Linked DNA regions of Homo sapiens: all the other regions are linked to region 1. The links are contacts of gene promoters, found by promoter capture Hi-C in blood cells and fetal thymus (Javierre and others, 2016). All regions are on one chromosome and are shown on one strand. The core of a region is centred on a gene start or on the middle of the fragment in contact, and the rest is flanking DNA. Distances in the headings are between cores, read along the strand shown. Region 1 holds the start of GPR19 (G protein-coupled receptor 19). Region 2 overlaps BORCS5 (BLOC-1 related complex subunit 5). Region 3 overlaps DUSP16 (dual specificity phosphatase 16). Region 4 overlaps DUSP16 (dual specificity phosphatase 16).

Evidence for each region. Contacts are between HindIII fragments. The CHiCAGO score rates a contact against its expected background, and 5 or more counts as called.
Region 2: a fragment that was not itself captured here is called in contact with the fragment with the promoter of GPR19 in region 1 in 8 of 17 cell types (total CD8 T cells, naive CD8 T cells, total CD4 T cells and 5 more); the score reaches 10.7 in total CD8 T cells.
Region 3: a contact is called between a fragment that was not itself captured here and the fragment with the promoter of GPR19 in region 1, in 1 of 17 cell types (total CD8 T cells). The highest score is 5.9, in total CD8 T cells.
Region 4: a fragment that was not itself captured here is called in contact with the fragment with the promoter of GPR19 in region 1 in 1 of 17 cell types (total CD8 T cells); the score reaches 6.0 in total CD8 T cells.

The regions. Positions count from the first base shown.
Region 1 is chr12:12,694,591-12,697,432 of GRCh38, forward strand. GPR19 (G protein-coupled receptor 19) reads right to left here and starts at 1,593. Exons shown (of 4, transcript NM_006143.3): 1 at 1,475-1,593; 2 at 869-921. RefSeq lists enhancers at 1,341-1,500, 1,681-1,760. The HindIII fragment of the contact is 8,608 bases long and covers 1-2,842 here.
Region 2 is chr12:12,450,843-12,453,684 of GRCh38, forward strand. The region is part of intron 3 of BORCS5 (BLOC-1 related complex subunit 5); the gene reads left to right. It also overlaps the pseudogene AP3S1P3. Among named protein-coding and RNA genes, the nearest start is that of BORCS5, 95 kb to the left of the region's middle. The HindIII fragment of the contact is 4,586 bases long and covers 1-2,842 here.
Region 3 is chr12:12,520,113-12,522,954 of GRCh38, forward strand. It overlaps DUSP16 (dual specificity phosphatase 16), which reads right to left. Exons shown (of 7, transcript NM_030640.3): 2 at 759-1,351. The coding sequence starts at 986. Among named protein-coding and RNA genes, the nearest start is that of DUSP16, 41 kb to the right of the region's middle. The HindIII fragment of the contact is 1,292 bases long and covers 829-2,120 here.
Region 4 is chr12:12,537,120-12,539,961 of GRCh38, forward strand. The region is part of intron 1 of DUSP16 (dual specificity phosphatase 16); the gene reads right to left. Among named protein-coding and RNA genes, the nearest start is that of DUSP16, 24 kb to the right of the region's middle. The HindIII fragment of the contact is 1,974 bases long and covers 400-2,373 here.

The DNA.
Region 1 (2,842 bases), core at 343-2,842:
GTACTTTACACTAAGTTCTATGCTACCTCATTTTGTCATTACAATAATCCTATGGCACAGGCACTATTATCCTTATTTTATAAATTGAGAAACTGAGATTCAGACAGGACACACAGAGTGACTGGCAGACCCTAAAGTCAAAGCCCAGGTCTGATTCCCAATTGTACACACTTTATATGACATCATATCGAGATGTCATGCCTCTCAGAGCTGGATGATCCCACTCCCTAAAACAAGACACCCAGGCTTCAACCCTGAAATCCTATTCCATTGCCTCCATGGATTTTTCCTGCAGCATTTTCCTATGCACTTCACACATACAGCGCAGCTGCCAGGATATACTTTAGGCTGCCAAAATGAAATGAAGTCACTTTCTTGGTAAGTGATTACCATGCCTGGCTCTTTACTGAAGTACTTCCATTCTATATATTCACACTGGGATCCTTCTCCATCACTGCTAGCTTCAATCCTGTGGCTTTCCATATTTAGTTTTTCTTACAGATGAAGTGATACTCTTTACCTATCAGCCATTCCTTTGTTGGAGTAAAATTACGTATTCCATCAGCATTCTTCTGCCTTGTACTCCAGATAGTATACAAAGAATCAAATTATAGTAGCTAAGTGGCATAGAATTGCTGCCGATATCAAGATGGACTCTAATATCTAGTGAACTGGGAGGCTAGAGGCTAGAAGTATGTACTTCTGTAAGGTGTCAGTGACACATCTGAGTAATGTGGTAGCTAAATGCCACCATTTCATTCCATGAAATCCACATTTCATTCTGGCTAAAGGGTAAAGCTGGTGAGAGGTGGGAGGGGCCAGGAGGCTCCATCGGAAGGAGGCAGACACTTCAGGTGTTGGGTGGTACCTTTAAGATGTTGCGGGGCCAAATCCAATGCCGGTGCAGGTGTCCCATATATCCTGAGAGACAAAAAGAGGTCAGATTGGTCAGATCCCTCGAGACAGTTCCCAAATTCCTGACTTCTGTTACCGCGACTGTTCTTCGCAATTCCACCTCGGCCTGTGTTCAGGACTGTGGCTTTTAGAATCTTCCTCATTCCATTCCATTAGGGGCGTCCCGATTTCCACCTTATATACACCATGTACTAAATGCATGCCATTTCTGCCTGTTTACAAACATGCATAAGTTCACACTCTTTTAAGAAAAATGTCCTCTACTGTCAACTTCTTTCTAGTCTGGCCTCCCAGGTAGGCTACAGAGCTACTGCCTTCATTTATCTCTCAAATCTTCCCATCTTCTCCTTCCCACTGTATTACCTTAGCTCACACTCACATCCTCTTGGTCACCAGCCAAAAAATAAATAAAACTCCTTTGTCCCTTCAGATTTCTCTCTTATTCTACAACCTCATTAATCGGCTCTCCCGCTCCCACTCCTTTACTACTTCAGTCGCTGAAACCTCCCCTCACAGAGTTCACGGCCAATATAAAAACGGAAAGAAGGGATGACCATACGAGCTTGTGGACTTTTGCCTGCAAAATCTCATAGAATGTGGTGTTGTGTACGTGAATCCATCAGATCAACGCGACGGACACTCCCCAAGGGCCAAATCGGACCGCCTCTCACTAGGCGGAAAGTTTTGAAACTTTTGCGCGCTAAAAATGATGAGCCAGACGCATGCGCAAACGTGCACTCCCGGGGTGGCGCTTCTCCTCAGGCAGATCTCGCGTGGTTTGGTGATGGCCGGCTAGTATGAAGGTTTTCCGTGGCGTTGAGATCCCACCCGCCCTTTTTTTTTTTTTTTTTTTTTTTTTTTTTTTTTTTTGCTGCCCCAGTGGATTAGGATTAGTGCTGCAGTCAAATGAAAAAGATCAAGACAAAAAATTAGGCTAATATAACTAGCCGACAGGCTAGCGGCATTTCTCTGGGGCCGAGGAATTCCACGAAGAAGATCTCTGCGAGGCCCAGAAGGCCGCACAACTACTTCTTCAGAAACAAAATTTTTTAAAAAAGTAAAAATAGAGGAAGTCAGCCAGTTTATCACCTTGGAACCAGCGTTTTGTTTGGCTTTTCCGCTTTTCACTCTACGAAAAAGCCCATTGGCGGCTACCCAGGTTACCGTCCTGTTGCCATTGCGCCTGCGCGGCGGTTTGTTTACCAGTCCAGGCGAAGCGCTGTGTCGCGGTTCTCGCCGCCCCGAGCGCCTTGGTTTGCTCCCTTGACGTGTAATTCGTAATGAAAGTCATGTTTTCATTTGGGAACACGGATCGGAGGTTTAAAACTGGACAGTTTAAGTGTCAACTTCAGACCAAAGAAAATAATGGTAGGGAAAACACTGGACACTCAGAAATCGGTGCCGCGTCAGAGCTGTCACGGAAGATGTTTCTAATGAACCTGAGGAAAACAATAGCACCACCCTAACCAGAACTAAAAAGTGGCAAGCAGCCACAGTTAATGAAACTCATAGGTGGCATTTAGTTACTTATTTAGAATGTAGGCCTAGTTATGGTAAAAATGCAAATAAGACCAAACCTAAGGTCCTCTTGCTCGAGCAAACCTCAAGCAAAACCTACATGATTTAAGACTGACTCTTGAAGCGAAGTAAAAAAAAAAAAAAAAAAAAAAAAGCAGCCATGCAAAATTTGAAACTTGGAGACGACTCTAGAAGCATTAACCCAAGAAAGCACAAGCCAACAAACAAATTTTTGAAATGGTTTGAAGAGCTCTTCAAAGTCAGTTTCAGGTGGCTTAGAAGAGGATGTTGCTTATAAAATGAGATCTGATGGAAACTTGTTTTACAGATATGACTGGATTCGTTTGAAAACAAAAAAAAAGGCAGGCAAAGTGACTTTTTAAAAAGTATTTTTATGGAAGGATTTCTA
Region 2 (2,842 bases), core at 237-2,736, 240 kb before region 1:
TATAAAGATAATGTATGTAAACTGCACAGTACAGTATCTGACAGTTAGTAGATACTTAATGGATAGCAGCTGTAACTGTTATACATTATTTTATTACAATAATTAAAATAACTAGAGAATTTGTGTATATTATATACTGGGTTCTATCTACCAAATCATTCTAATATGATGTGCATTGATTACCAAAAGAAATAGTCCTCCAGTATGGATGCCAGTTTTGTTTCTGTTAGAGTGTGTGGAGTGAGATTTACCAGAGAGGGATTTCTCTTTTCTGGTTGACAGATCAAAGGTACGCCTATGAGAATACATGGCAAGAATTTATTCTTTTTTTTTTTTTTAACAGTGATAAAATATACTTTACTTTGTTGAGTCAGAGGGTTGTAAAAAAAATTATTGCTAAAGTAGGTATCAGGCAAACAGAAAGGTGCTTTAGAAGTCCAGTTACCTTGGAGTTTATTTAAACTAAGAGAAAAACGTCATAATGTTTTCATGCGATACATATCTGGTTCTTTAACAATTGTGTGACAAACAGCAGAAGGAATTAAGGAATGCCGCACTTGTGATCCATACAAAACACCAACACTTTAGGTTGTACATAATTAAAGAAATATCTCAAACACTTTTTAAAACACTGTAGTAGCCAATACATAGAGGCATGCCGTAGGTAGGCACAGGAATGCAGTTTAGAAAAATAAATAAATCACATAGGAACTACTCAATTTCCTTAAAATCACTGAGCAAGAAAAGCAACATTGAACTGGCTGGGCGCAGTGGCTCACGCCTCTAATCCCAGCACTTTGGGAGGCCGAGGCGGGCGGATCACGAGGTCAAGAGATCAAGACCATTCTGGCCAACATGGTGAAACCCCGTCTAATTTTTGTACTAAAAATACTAAAAGTACTTTTTTTGTACTAAAAGTACAAAAATTAGCTGGGCGTGGTGGCGCTCGCCTGTAGTCCCAGCTACTCAGGAGGCTGAGGCAGGAGAATGGCGTGAACCCAGGAGGCGGAGCTTGCAGTGAGCCGAGATCGCACCACTGCACTCCAGCCTGGCGACAGAGCGAGACTCTTTCTCAAAAAAAAAAATTAAAAAAAAAAAAAAAAGGAAAGCAGCATTGAACTTTCATATTGATTTTACACAGCTTTTATACAGTACCTTGACTTAAATCCAAGAGCAAAACTTGACTGTCCTCCTCTATTTTTGGTAAACTTACGTGACTTTCCCCCCTGGATTTTACCTGGGAGTAGCCTTTTTAAATTTTTATTTAAAAGAGGGCAGGTTTGGCACTTTATAGTAATGTCACCAATGTTAATATTTCTTGGGATCTCAGGAAGATTCACATTTTTTACAGCTGATACAGGTTCAGCACAGGCTGAAGCTCCCCCTCAGCCAGCCTCAGATTTTTCCAGCTTATTTTGTGCACCAATTTGTGTAACAATCCCATTCATGTTTGTCTCCAATACCATTCCCCCATCATCATTTCTGCAAGAATATTGTGAACCGTGTCTACATGGAAAATCAAATCCAGTTCACAAACATTTTCAAAACATTTGTCTAATGTTTCCACAAATCCATAGGGCTGGTAGAACTTGGAGAGCCGCGGTTTCCCATGATTGTTAAGATTAGGATCGCCTTGATCGTGGCTGGGTCGGGCCCACCGGGTAGGCACTGGGGGCCAGGGTGCGGGCCGGCGCGCAAGCCTCGCCTCGTGATCTTGCCGGCGATCCTTCCCCACCCACTCCCTCCCGCACGCCGGCAAGAGTTTATTCTTACAGGCTGCCATTGCAAACTACTGTCTTCAGAAACAAGGTCACTTCAAAGTGTCCAGAATGTGGTAATTGGTGCCATTCAGCCTGTGGCGTAATTAAGGAAAACATTTGCCCATTGTTGTCCATTGTGCTAGAGAGAGGCGTCCAGGAAAGATTCATACTCCCAAACCCTCCATGGGAGTGGTGATCTGGAGAGGGTCGGACAGCCAGAAAGCACATAGTTGACCCTGAAAGGTTTTGTTGCAGCCTGTCATACCCTAACCTTTATAATCTGTCTGAATCTCTACTGCAGGTCAAGTAGCCATGGTCTGGTGGGGATAGAGGTGGCAGGTGGGCTAGAACGTGCCATATCTTGATTTGTGGCAATGGGCCTCCTACTCTTCGGAGTGGAGACAGCTAATACCATGAGTCAAAGACCAAATCGGGATAGCCGATGTATAAAAACACAAGCACCGGGTTTGCAAACTGGAAGAAAGGTCTTGAAGAAGGTGTCAGAAGCAAAAAATGGTAAGTATGTGAGGAGGTGGATATTTTAATTAGCATGACTATAGAAATCATTTCACTATGTATATGTATGTCAAAACATGTGTGCTGTAAATATATAGTTTTTATTTTTTAAAAAATGAATGCTGTCAGTATGAGTCCATTTAAAAATAAGCAGGCTTAAAGGTTCAAGGAAATTGCTGAGAACTGGCATCTCACGCTTCCTTTTGGGGTTAGTCGATGCATGGTATGGCTAATGTAAAGATCCAGGATCTTATGAACACAGCTTTTTACCTTGGACTGTTCCTCTTGCAGACTCAGCTACCACCTTCCTTTAGGATTAAAAATGTTTTACTTAGCCTCAACAATTTGTTTTAGAGCCACTTTCATAGTGCCTAGTCCTGGATTCCCAAATAGGTTTCTTCATCTTCGTAAACTCGAAAGTGGCCATCTGGGGTTCAGTGTCAGGAAGGGTTCTGAGTCCAAGTCAGATTTAAAGAATAACCATGATGCATTACTGGTATCTGTCGGGGGTCTGGGAGAAGGAATTGAATGTATTTGAATACACTTATTTTATTATTTTTTAAAAC
Region 3 (2,842 bases), core at 225-2,724, 170 kb before region 1:
AATTAATAATTTGAATAAAAATGAGATGTAGTCAATTTACGAGACAGACACATACAAAACTCTTAAAAACCAAAATGATGCTATTTCTGTGTAGGTGATCTCACGATTCCCTGGTTTTAAATCCTTTATACTATAAAATGGTAAAGTTCATAATAAACCAAACAATATGCAAAATAAACATAACCCTGGACCTAAACAAACTTTTTTTAAAATGACTTTTACACCTTAACAAAGAAATCAGTTGTTTATTTAAATTAAAACATGAGCTCATTTGTATTTGTGAAGAAAAAAACCAACTTCCTCACCACACAGACAACATTTTAGTATCCCAGGAATAACTTCCCTTGAAGATATCATTAAGTCTTGACCAATGTTACCACATGTGTTATGACACATAAAAAGCACCCCTAATAATTAGTTCCTACTTTCTTTCCAAAGAACTTGAAAAGAATGACTTTCCTTTCAGTAAATTTGCAGATAATATAGAATAGTGTTTAATAAAATCATTTTAGCAAGCCACAAGAAAATATAGCACTTGTCCAAACTAAAGCAAGTTAATCCTTCATAGTTTAGAAATATTATTAAATGTGGCAATATGGACAATAAATTATTTTGAGGTACCACAAGGCACCAAAATTTAAAAAGCAACCAAAACTTCCTCAAATTACTTTCTCTACTTAAAGAGGAGGCTTCAATTAAAATTATTCCTCATTCAGTGTGTCCATTTATTTTGAAAAGGCAAAAAGGAAAGCGTTTACCTTATGTTTCGCTGAATGCTGGATGAGCTCTGTAATTAACACTTTGTCCTGTTGCAACCTTCGCTTCATAAGCTTGGAGCAGTTGATATTAATGGCTTCCAAAATGTGGGATGTATTGTATTCCACAAATGGCCGGCTATCAATTAGCAGCACTTTTTCCGTTCCACTTTCCAGCAGAGCCACCAACCTCTCAGTAACAATTTGAGTTCCAATCATCTCATGGGCCATGACAACAATAAGTCCTCTTTTCCCACCTCCTTCTTTAATTTGCCACGATGATGTAATGGTGGTGTGCTCAAAGGCTCAGCCACTCCATTGTACTAAAAGTGTATGAGGTCAGGCTGGTGGTGACTGGCAAAAGGAGAGTTAAACCCATTTTCAGCAAGAGCCCTCCAAGTGAATGTCTCTTTCTCTTTCCCGTTGATGTGCTCTTGCAAAGGACTCCGTCCACAAAGCAGCCCCTCACATTTGATTCATAAAGAGATGACTGGAATAACCATTCCACAACAAAAGATGCTTTGGAGCAGCCAGCGCATTACATCATTCTTTACCTTTGCTCCCGCGCTCCAACAGCTTTACACTGGACTGAAAGCCTACGCGGAGAGAGAAAGACAGAAAACAAAACGTGAGGTCAAAAAAAGAAGAAAGAGTGTCAGATTAGAGAGAGTGTATGATTCATAATATTTACTCCATTAATCTAATTCCATACTTGATGCACTGCTTCATTTGAACAAACAAATAAAAAGGACAAATTGGTATGGCTTCAGAAAAATGTGCTAGTGATAATTCCATTTTACCTCAAAATGTAAAAACTCAAAGAAAACAAAACAAGACATATCATGAATTATAATCACCTAGGGCTCAGAACTAAATGACCTGTAGTATTGAATTAAAAGGGCTACAAAAAGCTGCTTGAAGTATTATTATTCCAAATAGTTTTCCTATATTTTATTTGCTTATTTATTGAAATCCCACAAAGAATGGCAGCTGAGGACAAAGTTAGCAATCCTGTGTTACCAGGACAAAAAAAAAAATATTTTCTGAAATGGCTTGAGAATTCCTGCGATGAATGGGTAGGTGTATATGTGTGTATGTGTGTGCACATGTGAGCTCACGCGAGTACCAGGGCGCAAACAGCAGCCTTTTAAAATTGCCCTCACGGAGGAGAGAAGATGCAGGAAAACTGGAGTTTCTATAAATTTCAGCTATCTTTTAAGGAAGAGGAAGGACAAAAACAACTGATATGTTTGTCACAGCAGCTGCTGAGCTAGGCCTGTGAAGTGCTGAAGCTCACAGCCATGGCCCTGTCATGTCTCCTTCCGGAGGCCATCTCCCTACCACCAAGTTGCTTAAGGCCCTGTAAGCTTATCCTTCACTTTTTCCTGCTTCATTCTTCAGAGAATCACTAACTCCTAGTCTTAAAAAAATCTCACCCCTTAACCTGGAACTCTAAGTTGGCAACCCAGACATAGAGAGCCCTTAAAGCTGAACCCAGTGCTTCCCTTTCTTGCCAAACTCCTTTAATCAATCACTTTCTAATTAACACTAGTTGAAGTTTTGCGCTTATTGCTTGGACTTCACCTTGACCTTCAATACTCTCGGATTCCTATCTCCCCTGGTCCATCTCTGCTTATATGAAATCCTCTACTACATAAAACTACATGTCTACTTCTGGCACTGAACTTCTAGAGGGTAAATTTTTTTTTTTTTTGAGACAGGGTCTTGCTCTGTCACCCAGGCTGCAGTGCAGTAGCACAATCTCAGCTCACTGCAACCCCTGCCTCTCAGGCTCAAGTGATTCTCCTGCCTCAGCCTCCCAAGTTGCTGGGACTACAGGCGCGCACCACCACACCCAGCTAATTTTTGTACTTTTTGTAGAGACAGGGTTTCGCCATGTTGCCCAGGCTGGTCTCAAACTCCTGGGCTCAAGCAATCCACCTGTCTCAGCCTCCCAAAGTGCTGGGACTACAGGTATGAGCCACCGCACCCAGCCTAGAGGGTAAATATTTGATTGCAAAAGTTTATTATATTTCTTACTTCTACAGTACTTTGGACATAACATACTCAATATATTATTATAGTAG
Region 4 (2,842 bases), core at 137-2,636, 160 kb before region 1:
TCAATATATTTTTCTGTAATTTCTAAGTTTCCTATTTTATAGATAACTTTCATAACAGAAAACTATATATATTTTTAATAAGACGTAACTCATGTCATGTCATGAAAAAAAGATGTGGAAGTCAAAGTGAAACCTAAATGAATTTTAATACACTATCATGACATTCATCCAACAGTGACTATAGTGTGAGCAAATTTTTAAAAAGTTTTTAAATGTAATTACATAGCCCTATGACAGCAATGCTACAAGGTAAAAGACATTCATATGTATTCTACACAAAGCAATATAACTATATATGATTCAGTACCAGGCAATGTTCCTTTGCCAAATGTAACCTTCAGTATCAAAGAACACATATTCAAAATTAAAATTATAAGCAAAATCATTACAAATACAGTAAGCTTGCTATTGATGAAACTTAATATAAACCAGACCATAGAACTGTCTATTAAGAAACTCAATGGCTAAATGCCAAAATATCTAATTTCACCATCTCATCTAAAACATAGTCCACGGCATAGACCCTAAAAATATGCTCACAAAGCTCCACAGTCTAATTCTCTACTGGACAGATTATGAAATACATTCAAAAGAAACCTATCACCATTTGCTATCAACATATTTAAGTGTCACATAAGCATCACTAAGTATCAGAGACTGAAAGCCCCTCTAAGTAGAACACGATAATAAATGTTCAGTTTTTTCTCTTGCAAATAGTGTTCATTCTTCTAATTCTGGGGTGTGGATCTTAGCTAATCTATAAAACTCCAGGAAAAAAATTAAATGAGTTAGTAGAATATATATATATATGTTCATTTATCGAGCACCAACTAGATTCAATTTCCTATAGCACAATTTCCCACTTTTGCCTGATCACAAGAATCACTTAGAAACTTGATAAAAATGCCCAACCAGGCCCACCTCTGGAGATTGATTCGTGGGTCTAGAGTGGAACCTGTGAATTTGCATATTTAACAAATGTCCCAGGAGGTTCAGAGAATCAGGCAGGTTTGAAAACATGCATCCCCGTGCGCCACCACGCCTGGCTAAAGACATCTATCCTAAAGACATCTTTGGTCTTTCTCTCAATGTTCACATTTAATCAGTTGTCAAGACCTACTGATTTTCAGTCTCTCTTACCTGGAGGACATAGAGGCATAAAAGCTGGATTTGAGTTGAAAATAATGGTAAGAGGAGAAATGGGAAGTCAGTCATGTCACGTCATTAAAGAAAGTCAGAGACTACTGAAATTTCATAGCCAAAGAAGGACTTCCACTTAGTCTAGTGCATGTCTTCTGGCAAGTTAATAATGTCCCTTTTACAAAATGTTACATATTTATTCAAAGTCACACTATTCATCAGTGGTAAAAGACAGAAAATAGCTTCTAGGGAGTGTGCTTTCCACAACCCTAGAGAGCTTACCAAACATTCTGCAAATTTTAATAGGCTCCTGAAAAACACAGAACGCAAAATATTTCAAAAGATGAGAAATAATGCACCCTTTTAAACACTTAATGGGTGTGGCTGTGGAGAGTTGCCCTCACCAAAATGCCAGCCTGCCATGAAGTTACAGATGAAATGCCAGGCATGAAATAGAGAACCAAATGGTGAGGCAACAGCCTCGGCAGGACTCTAGTGAAGGGGGAGGAACCCTCGAAGCAAATGCTTGTCAACTTCCTGGGTCACCATGAAAATACAGTAAGACAGTTAAAGTATGTAATAAAATATAAAGCATGTAATAAATGCTCAGGTAATCCTCCCACCTATTGTAAATTCTAACATTTGCTAAAAAGGGAACAACTCAGTACATGATTAAATGGAGGAGCATTTTGGCTAACAGAGTAGCTCTGAACCTTAGTTACACATTAAAATCATCTGGGAGCTCTTAAATATCCAGATGTACCTCAGAATGATAAATCAGAATCTCTGAGGAATGGGCCCAGGCATCAGTATTTTTCACACGAACAAGCAGAGGTGGATCCTTTACCTTCTCCTAAAAAACTGTCACAAGGGACAGGTCACTTGGAAGGCAGTTTAAGAGAGAGCAGAGGAGAAATCTGGTGACACATGTAACACTGTGATTAATCTATTGCTTACGATGTTTTATATGTTGAAAGTCTGGAATTCTGAATATTTTATTATGTAAGAGATCCAGTTCTCCAATGTCACAGCCTCTATAATTTGAATAATAATAAAGGAGCACAACAATTCACTTATGATACCCAACAGAAGACTGCAAGGATATGCTGGGGCACAGAGCCCAATTAGGGTTTAATAAGACAGGGTTTATGGGTGAAGCAATCTAGTTTCCAATCTTTCTTCTTAAAAATCTACAAATGTTTAGGTGTAGATGTGTCAAGGAAAGATTGTTAAAGCTTGGGAGAGATAGAGTTCAGTGTTCACCGGCTTATGAATGCACGTTAAATAAATATCTCCACCCAGGAATTTCCCATTACTAACGGCTAATCACCATCACAAGGGCATACAGCCCTTTAGAATTCCTCTCTAATCCAATCCTGTAAAACTTCACTTAGGATGATGATGGAAACCAAGATTCGGGCCTCCAGCCAATCTATATTACATTAAATAAAGGACGTCACCACCCTTCTCAAGGTTGGGCCAGCAGTTATTTAAAAAAAAAAAAAAAAAGGCTGGGCACAGTGGTTCACACCTGCAATCCCAGCACTTTGGGAGGCCGAGGCAGGTGGACCATTTGAGGTCAGGAGTTCAAGACCAGCCTGACCAACATGGTGAAACCCCGTCTCTACTAAAAAATACGAAAAAATTAGCCGGGCGTGGTAGCATAGTCCCAGCTACTCGGGAGGCTGGGGAGGCTGAAGCA